Regions from separate parts of the Homo sapiens genome. Here region 2 is linked to region 1. The links are contacts of gene promoters, found by promoter capture Hi-C in human tissues and cell types (Jung and others, 2019). All regions are on one chromosome and are shown on one strand. The core of a region is centred on a gene start or on the middle of the fragment in contact, and the rest is flanking DNA. Distances in the headings are between cores, read along the strand shown. Region 1 holds the start of TANC1 (tetratricopeptide repeat, ankyrin repeat and coiled-coil containing 1). Region 2 overlaps MARCHF7 (membrane associated ring-CH-type finger 7).

What was found. Contacts are between HindIII fragments. The study calls those that stand out against the background at their distance.
Region 2: a fragment that was not itself captured here is called in contact with the fragment with the promoter of TANC1 in region 1 in 1 of the 25 tissues and cell types used here (dorsolateral prefrontal cortex).

Annotation. Positions count from the first base shown.
Region 1 is chr2:158,966,236-158,971,135 of GRCh38, reverse strand. TANC1 (tetratricopeptide repeat, ankyrin repeat and coiled-coil containing 1) reads right to left here and starts at 2,496. Exons shown (of 27, transcript NM_033394.3): 1 at 2,354-2,496. RefSeq lists silencers at 2,461-2,540, 2,601-2,710. The HindIII fragment of the contact is 16,038 bases long and covers 1-4,900 here.
Region 2 is chr2:159,724,030-159,728,929 of GRCh38, reverse strand. The region is part of intron 3 of MARCHF7 (membrane associated ring-CH-type finger 7); the gene reads right to left. Among named protein-coding and RNA genes, the nearest start is that of MARCHF7, 14 kb to the right of the region's middle. The HindIII fragment of the contact is 4,142 bases long and covers 95-4,236 here.

The DNA.
Region 1 (4,900 bases), core at 1,247-3,746:
ATTGTCTCTAAAATTATGCCCTCAATCACCCAGTGTCAAAACCTACTATGGCACCAAATAAATCGTGTGTGGTTAAAGAGACAAAATGTTCTTTTTTCTACAGGCTGTTATGGGAAGCAGAAAAAGGCTGACTATGAATCAGTTATATCTTAGATCAAGGATGGATATAAATTATAATAATTTGGGCATTCTGGTGGTTAAACCAAGAAAGCAGGAAAACCATTGCTTCCAAGTTCCAGCAACACTTCAAACCAAAAGGCTTGGTGCCAAAAAGTTAAGTTTGGGGCACCACATGTGCAAGACAGGGTCATAAAAACTCACCTTAAATTTATTTGTGGACTTTTCCTGCTTCCACTAAAATCGATGACACTATTTCCCATCTCTTATTGTCAAATCACAACAGTCCGGAAGCCTGAACCAAGTTCACTTGGCAGGTAACAGGAACAACCCTAGGAGGAAGTCCTGAAGGATATCAGATACCATACTTCCTTTACTGCCACATACTTTTCATTTCAGAACCACCAGGATATATTTATGATGCTTTTTGACTAACACTCACCAAGCATTCTGGCTGACACAAACTGCAGAAACTGGCATACTCTAGGGAAGGTCCCTTGTGAGGTCTTTAAGTAGCTTAGATGAGTAAAACACTCAGACTACTTCTATAATGAAGTAGTCTCAGCCGCTCATAAACTCCTTCATTCCCAGCAATCAAGAAGCAGCTGTTAAAATCCTGGAATCTTCCTAGTAGCAGATCTGAAATACCTCCAGGCTGACCCAGGAAGCTTCACAACTGCTTTCCTCTCCTTCCCCTCCCCTGCCTCAGGAGTGCCAGCCTGGCAGGAATAAAGATGACCAAGGAAGGAAAAAAGAGGGTAGCGGATCTGGTGAAAGCAGAGACGCAGACTCCCTTCATTTCCACTACAGAGAAATACCAGCCCTCTGTGCCAACTAACCAGGTTTCTCCTTTCCTCTCCCACCCCCACCCCTCCAAACACGCATTAACTTCTGCAGTCTGGTGTGTCTGGCATTTCCAGAGCGAGCGATCTCAGCAATCTTGAGCCCTTTCCTCAAAGATTCTGAACCAGGAACTTCCTTTCCGCGCCAGCCAGAGTTTGCGGTCCAACCCACGTTAAGACTCAGCTTCCATTTACCTTGTAACCTGTACGGACGACGCTGCTTCTGGGGTCAAGTTCAAGATGAAAGTTCCCTCCTCACCTCCCAAGTTAACTCCAGCAGGGAACAACGCCACTGAGAACGGTCCCAACACTGGAGGCACGCGGATCTGGAGCTGGCAGGAGGGGGCTGGGAGAAGGCCGTTGCCGAGCCTGGCGTCCTCCGCCCCTTGGCCGCAGCGCCGCGTTTCTACCTGGCCAACGCCACATTTCCTCCCGGAGCTTTACACAATAAGTCCAGTAAGTTTTGAGAACACCGGTCCAGGGACCTTTCTGTCTGCAAACACACCACACAATGCCTAGAGCTTCCTTCCCAGCCAGGCGTTCCGGAAAGCCGCCGCGCCAAAGCCGGGAGCCCCGCACACCCACAGCGCTGCGCGCCCGCACCCCAAAGTCCTCCAGGAAGCCAGTGCCCTGATATCGTCCCCCGAAAATGACCACTCTGCATCCAAGAACAAGGGGGCTCACAATCTTGACAATTACCGCTCTTCTCAGCGCCCCACCCCTAAAGAAAAACCCCCAACGTCTAATCCTAACTCACCCCCACCCCCAATAAAGGAGTGTGGATATGCTAATCGCAGTGTTCTTGGAAGCAAAGCAATAGACTTTCAGCCCAGACTGGGGCAATACCATGCCTCCGGCTTAAGTTCTCTCGGCAACTTCGCGACCCGCGCACCCCAACACTCCGGGGGGCGCCCAGGACCCCGCGGTGCCAGGCGCGCCTCCCCCCGCCTCCCCCGCGCCAGGTACCAGGCGTAGCCCAGGCCCTTGCCAAGCCCGAGGGCTACAGAGAAGGCGGGAAAGGGGGCGAGCGGGCGCGCCGGGCGGGGGTGGTCCCAGAACTCGAGCGTGCCCCAAGCGTTCCCGGTTCCCACCACACCGGTTCCAGGGGAGGCCGGCTCGGTCCGGCGCGGGGGAACCGCGCAAGGAAGGTGCGGACTCCCCAAAGCCGCCGAGAGACCAAGGCCCGGGGCGCCCAACATGTCTGTGCCTATTCCCGGAAAGCTCCCGGGTGTGCCCGGCGGAGGAGGGGGCGCTCCAGAAACTTTCCCACACGCCTTTCCCTTCTCCCATCACCCTCTCCACCCCGGGTCCCTCTCGACCTCTCCGCACACTGGCAGCTGGCCATGCCCGGGGCGCTCGCAGGCCCGCGGCGGAGTCCGGGCTGCGGGAGTTACCTGCCGGGAAAGTTTCCAGCTCCTCAGCGCGGTTCCCCACACCCAGGGCCGGGCCTCGGGGCGAGGCCAGCTCGGCGCTCCGCGGCTGCCTCTCCTCCGGCTCCCGAGGCGGCCGCCGCTCCAGCAGCTGCCACAGCAAAGCCTCCGCTCCGGCCCGTCCCCCCGCCTTGCTCGGCCCACACCGGGGCCTCATTGGCAGCGCGAATCCCCGCCCTTGCGCGTGTTCCCGAAGGCACCTTCCTCTCGCGCGCCCGCCCCGGCCGCGCCTCCCGCGCCCCTCCCCGCCCCGGGCTGCGGCGGATCCAGGGACCGGCTGGAGCGCGGAGCGCGAACTTTCCGCGGGGCTTGGGCGCGAGGTCCCCTTGTCCCGCCTCTCGGCGCCAGGTCCGGGCCTGAAGCACCCTACCATCCCTCTGGGCACCGGGTCCCCCGGGGCTGCGCCTAGGCCCCTCTGGGACCAAAATGAGATGGGCCATAGTCTTTTTTACAGCCTCTTCAAAATCAATAAAGCGACCCGGCCTTCCCTCCTCGCTGCTTTTTTACCACAGCCGAGGAGGACATATGGGAGCAATTAACCGAGCTGGAGTTTCCGTGGACGCTTTGGGGTGGCTTGTGCGGCTTTCTTGGATTTTCTCTGCCTCACTTAACTACACACAAACACAAACACACTTTCTGGGGCCAGAATCAGCTAAATGAGCTGGAAGGTCTAAGAAGGCATCTCACCGGCTGCGTCTTTTTATTTCCCAAAAGGAATGGGGGACGTTCTGGGGCCGGTGATTTCCCGGGCGTCCCTGGGGCCGCGGGTCTGGAGCCTCCTGCGACCGCTCCGGGCTGGCCCGTGCTGTCTGCGCTACATTCACAGAGGGCCAGCGTCGTGCTTCTGTCGGAAGGAGGTGGGAGGGACGGAGGGGAGAGAACACACAAAGATGCTATTATTTTGTCGGTTGGTGGCAGTAAATTAAACTCCTGAGTTCCCAAAATGTTTTGTTATTCTCCAGCAGAGCAAAAACCAGGATAGGGACTAGGGATTCGGGTGTCCTGGGTTCTCCAAGATCCTCCCAGGAATCCCAGGCAGCCAAATTGGCCTAAGGGACTCTGCTCACTTAATACCCGAAGCTCTCTAAGACAGCCTTCGTTGATCTAGTTGACGAAGGAAGGATCAACTAGAACTGCCGCTGCCTTGTGTGGCCAGCGGGAATTGTGCACGGGTCACCCCATTGGTGTGTCTGGAGCAGAGAATAGAGAAGTTGCTGTAAACCGATTTATTGGTAACCCCTAACCTTGCTGTGGCAAACCCGCCTTAAAATACGATTGTGTTTTAAACAAGTTTCCTCATAAAAACTTCAACCTCACGCAGAGCTTCCCTATATAAAGACACCAGCAGGAGGGGTGTCCATATTTAAAGTTCTTATGAAAAGGGACAGGAAGCAAAATGCCACACAATCTCTTTTCATAAATTAAAAAGACTGAAATGGACTGGATTTTTCACCCATAGTTTCAAAGGCCTGATTACTGCTGTGTTGATATTTGAGCAGTAAACACATCAGCGGCCTTGAAGTATTCCCGAAACAAGGCAGGATAGAATATTGAAAATAAAAATACAAACTTAAACCAGAAAACTATTGACTTCTTTCTCCATCTGAAATGTTTCATTGCTGAAAAATATGGTAATGTTTTATTTAATTTATCTTGAAACGAAATCTTTCAACAGACAAAAAAGCCAGACAGCAACCTTAATGATAAAAGAATGATGCAAACAAAAGACAAAAACTCCAAGCAGTCTAACTAATCTGAAATATTAAAATATAAGAGAAACAATCCTAAGAAAATAGACTGGTAAGATTTCCTGCTCCAGACTTCTTTATAATGGGAGAAAGGTATAATGGATGAAATTTATCATTTGTACCACATTTTTCTGGTTTTGGCTCTTCTCAGCTGTATTTCCAAATTTTTGATGAAATTGCTTAGTTAAATAGGGCTTTGAAGGCAGTGCAATTTTTTTCCCTCTACTCTCAAAGCTCCTTAAGTAGCAAGTAGAAAATCACATAAATATGTTCATTACTGACATCATCTTTAAATTATTTTTAGTTGAAAAAGTTTTGTCTTTATAGTTTCAGAAGTCACAGTCACTAAAGAAGTAACTTCATCACTGCCTAGTTAGGAGTATTTAACATTCTAAACAGGCATACAGCTAGCAATCTGAAATGTGCACACAGAAAGGCCCTGTCTCCCCTTCTTCCTGTAGTGTTTATATAATCCAAACTACATATGTTATTATGCACAATCTGATCTCCAGCTTTAAACAGCTGACATTACATACACTATGTTGTACTAAGAACATCAAAGAAGCTCTCTTAAGCTGTGGGTGAAAATAGTACATTTATAAAAGACAAGGCCAAAAAGAGTAAAAAAAAAAAAATGAAAATTCATGGGTGAGGCAAACAGGGGGCTTCCATTAAGATCCGTTTTGTAAGAAAAAAATGTGAACATTTTCTAAATATCTTAATAAGTGAAGTATTAGCTGAGCACATATTAAAAAATGAATTT
Region 2 (4,900 bases), core at 916-3,415, 760 kb before region 1:
TCAAATAAAAAATTAACCATACAAATTAACCATATCTGACAACGTAAATTGTGAAATGATCACCACTTCTCTTCCGCAAAGCAGAAGTTCATCAAAGGTTTCCTATCGTCCATAAAAGGAAGCAAACAAACATGGTAAAAGTGGAATGAAGAACTCTGAGGTCTGTTGTTTCCAAAATCTGGGCTCTTTTCCTTACTCAATTTTGTCTATTACATATTCTACATGAATTTGTCCTTGACTCTCTTGGTATTCTCTATTTTTAGTGTTCAATGATCATACCTGTTGTACTATTTGCATACCCCTTAACACACTATGTTCTTACAAACCTTTATATGTGCCTGGAAAGTCTATACATTCCCCACCCAATTCTTGGTCATCTGTTTAAACACAAGTACCTTTCTTCTCTGTATATGTTTCTACTTCATACATACTTTTGATACTACTATGCATTGTAATTTGTTTACCTTTCTATTTCCCCATCTCAACAATGAATTTTCTAGGTCAGAATCATTTAAAGTATTTTAAAATCACTGCCTGGGATACAATAGGTACTCAATAAACACAAGTAAGAATGAATGAACTTTCTTTTTATTTACCACTCATAGGATCTCTTAATTATAACAAAAATAATAGCAATAGCTGATATTTATTAAGTATTATATGCAAGGTCTGACAGTAAAGACCTTCTGATTATCTGTTAGTTCACTGACTCTCCAGACCAACCCTGTGAGACAGGTACTATATTATCTCCACTTTATAAATAAGAAAACAGGCACTGAGAGGTTAAGCAATTTGCACATGATCACACAGCTAATAAAGTGTTTCTCAAAATGTTTTCAAAGATTGTTTATGGTACTATTGGAAAGTAACATTTTAAGTAAAAAGGTCAATCTATAAAACTACACATACAGTATGATTCTATTTATGCAAATAAAATGAATAAAACTTCTAAGAAAAAAACAAAATGTTATTTTGTGGAACTGAGTGCTTTCCACTTTATAGATTAATAATTTCCAAGTTTTCCTCACTAAACATTTCTAAACCCACGACGAAAGTAATGATTACCTATGCCTGATTATTAAATACGTATAAACGGAATCATACAATAAGTACTCTTTTGTGTCCAACTTCATTTGCTCAACACTATATTTGTGAGATTCATCTGTGTTGTTGCATGCAGTCTTCAGTTCACTCTAATTTCTTTACATAGCATTCCACCATATGGCACACAATTTATTTTCCCATTCTACCATGAATGTACGCTAGATTGTTTCCACTTGGGAGTTGTAACAGTGCTACTATAAGCACGTTACTACTATAATTTAAAAAGCTTTTTTTTTCTGAGACGGAGTCTCACTCTGTTGCCCAGGCTAGAGTGAAGTGGCACGATCTCGGCTCACTGGAAGCTCCACCTCCTGGGTTCACGCCATTGTCCCGCCTCAGCCTCCCAAGGAGCTGGGACTACAGGCTCCCGCCACCACGCCCAGCTAATTTTTTTGTATTTTTAGTAGAGACGGGGTTTCACCATGTTAACCAGGATGGTCTCGATCTCCTGACTTCGTGATCTGCCCGCCTCGGCCTCCCAAAGTGCTGGGATTACAGGCATGAGCCACCGTGCCCAGCCTTAAAAAGCTTTTAAAATATTCTGAGGCAAGGATTTACAAGGCCTCTGACTGTATCTCATATAAGTGGAATCATACAATATTTGTCTTTTCGTGATTGGCAAATTTATTTCCCTTACCCTAATGTTCTCAAAGTTCATCTATATTGTACCATATGCCAGAATTTCCTTCCTTTTTTAAGGCTGAATATTATTGTATTGTATGCATAGTTATGCATCACTCAAGAACAGGAATATATTCTAAGAAATGCGTCTTTAGGTGATTTCTTCACTGTGCAAAAATAATAGTGTACATACACAAACCTAGATGGTATAGTCTAATACCTGGATTATATAGTATAACCTATTGTTTCTAGGCAGCAAATCTTTACAGCATGTTCCTGTACTGAATACTGTAGACAAATGTAATTCAATGGTAAGTATTTATATAACTAAACAGAGAAAAGATACATTAAAAATAATTATAGTCAAATCATAGAGAAAGAAGATTGGTGGTTGGCAGGGGATGGGGAGTTGTTTAATGAGTATGAAATTTTGGTTTTACAAGATGAAAAGAATTATGGAGATAGATGATAGTGATGTTTGCACAACATTATGAATATATCCAATAATACTGAATTGTACACAAACATGGTTAAGATGGTAAAATTTTATGTTCTCTGTATTTTATCACAAAAAAATAACAACAGGTTGGGGGTAATGGTGCATGTGGCTGGAAAGCAAGTTGTTAAATTAAAACCTGTATCTGGCCGGGGGCGGTGGCTCATGCCTGTAATCCCAGCACTTTGGGAGGCTGAGGCAGGCGGATCACAAGGTCAGGAGATCAAGACCATCCTGGCTAACACAGTGAAACCCCGTCTCCACTAAAATTACAAAAAATTAGCCGGCCGTGGTAGCGGGCGCCTGTAGTCCCAGCTACTTAGGGGGCTGACGCAGGAGAATGGCGTGAACCCGGGAGGCGGAGCTTGCAGTGAGCAGAGATCGTGCCACTGCACTCTGGCCTGGGTGCAAGAGCGAGACTCGGTATCAAAAAACAAAACAAAACAAAACAAAACAAAACAAAACAAAACAAAACAAAACAAAACAAAACCTGTATCTGGAGCAGTAGTAGAGCTTCAGATTCTTCCCCAGTTCCATTCCCCTAAAGGTAGGATATTTATTCTCTGGCAAATAAATCTTTCCTAGGTAACACTCTTGTGTCCCTACCACCCCCCATCTCCCACACACGACATGCAATAATCTCCGCAGGAGTTTAGGCATGGGGTCAGTATAAGGAATAAAAGAAAATTTATATACTCAGTATTGAGACCCACAGACTCTTTTGTGGTCATGTTTCTACAATGCTGTCAGGAGACTAAGGGATTCTACTCTTGGATCACCAAACACCCGTGATAAGATTTCTGAATGTCATCTGAAATGTTTCCACTTTAAAGGTTAGCCTTCCACTAGACCATTCTATCCTACAACAAAGGCTGCTAGTCACCAGGAGTTTCTCATCAGAATTTTTAATGCTTCCCTCTAACTGACAAACATCAAGGACTACCATGTAATCAAGGAAGGCCTCCAATATGAAAGAAGGACCAAAGTAAACAACAATAAAAACAAAACTTTAAGATGTTGCAGGGAGAGGAAAATTTGGGGGAAAGGGGCTTATTTCTATCCTCACAGGGATCAAATAACATTCATTCATTGGGAGAAAATTTTTGCAATCTACCCATCTGACAAAGAGCTAATATCCAGAATCTACAAAGAACTTAAATTCGTAAGAAAAAATCAAACAACCCTATAAAAAAGTGGGCGAAGGATATGAACAGACACTTCTCAAAAGAAGACATTTATGCAGCCAACAGACACATGAAAAAATGCTCATCATCACTGGTCATCAGAGAAATGCAAATCAAAACCACAACGAGACACCATCTCACACCAGTTAGAATGGCAATCATTAAAAAGTCAGGAAACAACAGGTGCTGGAGAGGATGTGGAGAATTAGGAACACTTTTACATTGTTGGTGGGACTGTAAACTAGTTTAACCATCCTGGAAGACAGTGTGGCGATTCCTCAAGGATCTAGAACTAGAAATACCATTTGACCCAGCCATCCCATTACTGGGTATATACCCAAAGGATTATAAATCATGCTACTATAAAGACACATGCACAAGTATGTTTACTGTGGCACTACTCACAATAGCAAAGACTTGGAATCAACCCAAATGCCCATCAATGATAGACTGGATAAAGCAAACGTGGCACATATACACCATGGAATACTATGCAGCCATAAAAAAGGATGAGTTCATGTCCTTTGTAGGGACATAGATGAAGCTGGAAACCATCATTCTCAGCAAACTATCGCCAAGGACAGAAAACCAAACATGGCATGTTCTCACTCATGGGTGGGAACTGAACAGTGAGAACACTTGGACACAGGGCAGGGAACATCACACACTGGGGCCTGTTTTAGGGTAGGGGGAGGGGGAAGGATGGCATTAAGAGAAATATCTATTGCAAATGACGAGTTAATGGGTGCAGCACACCAACATGGCACATGTATACATATGTAACAAATCTGCATGTTGTGCACGTGTACCCTAGAACTTAAAGTATAAAAAAAATTCATTCATAAAATAAGAACAGGATGTGTGAGAATACAAAGACAGCATTATAAAGAGCTTATGGAAATTCAAAATGCCATATACTTGTTAAAATGAGATATACTGAAATAAATTCAACATAAGGACTGGGAGTAAGTTGCAGAAACCTCCTGGAAAGCAGAACCAAAAGAAATAGCAAATGTAACATGAAAATAATTATCTAGAGAGTTATAATTTGACTGTGGTTACAGAAAAATATAGAGAAAATTACCAAATAAACTTTTCTAGAAACGAAGGACAGAACTCTCCAAATTGAAAGGGCTCAAGACTACATAAGAGCATCAAAGAAAAAAGACCAACACTAAGCACAATATACCATCTTGAAACTGCAGAAAACCAGAAGTAATGGGAAGATCCTATAAGTTACTAGAGTGGAAAAAATGGGTCACATACAAAGAGAACGTAATCAGAACAGCTTAACAGCAACAATAAAGTCTTAAGACAATGAAATAATGCTTATAATACTGAGAAAAATGTTTAGCCTTGAATTCCAATCTAGCAAGTACATTTGAAGTGGAGAACAGAACATGTTTTCAGACATGCAAGGTCTCAACAAAACACAACGACCAAAAACACTACCAGAGGAAGCTAAATGAACAGCGTGTCCTAGAAAAATGGGAGT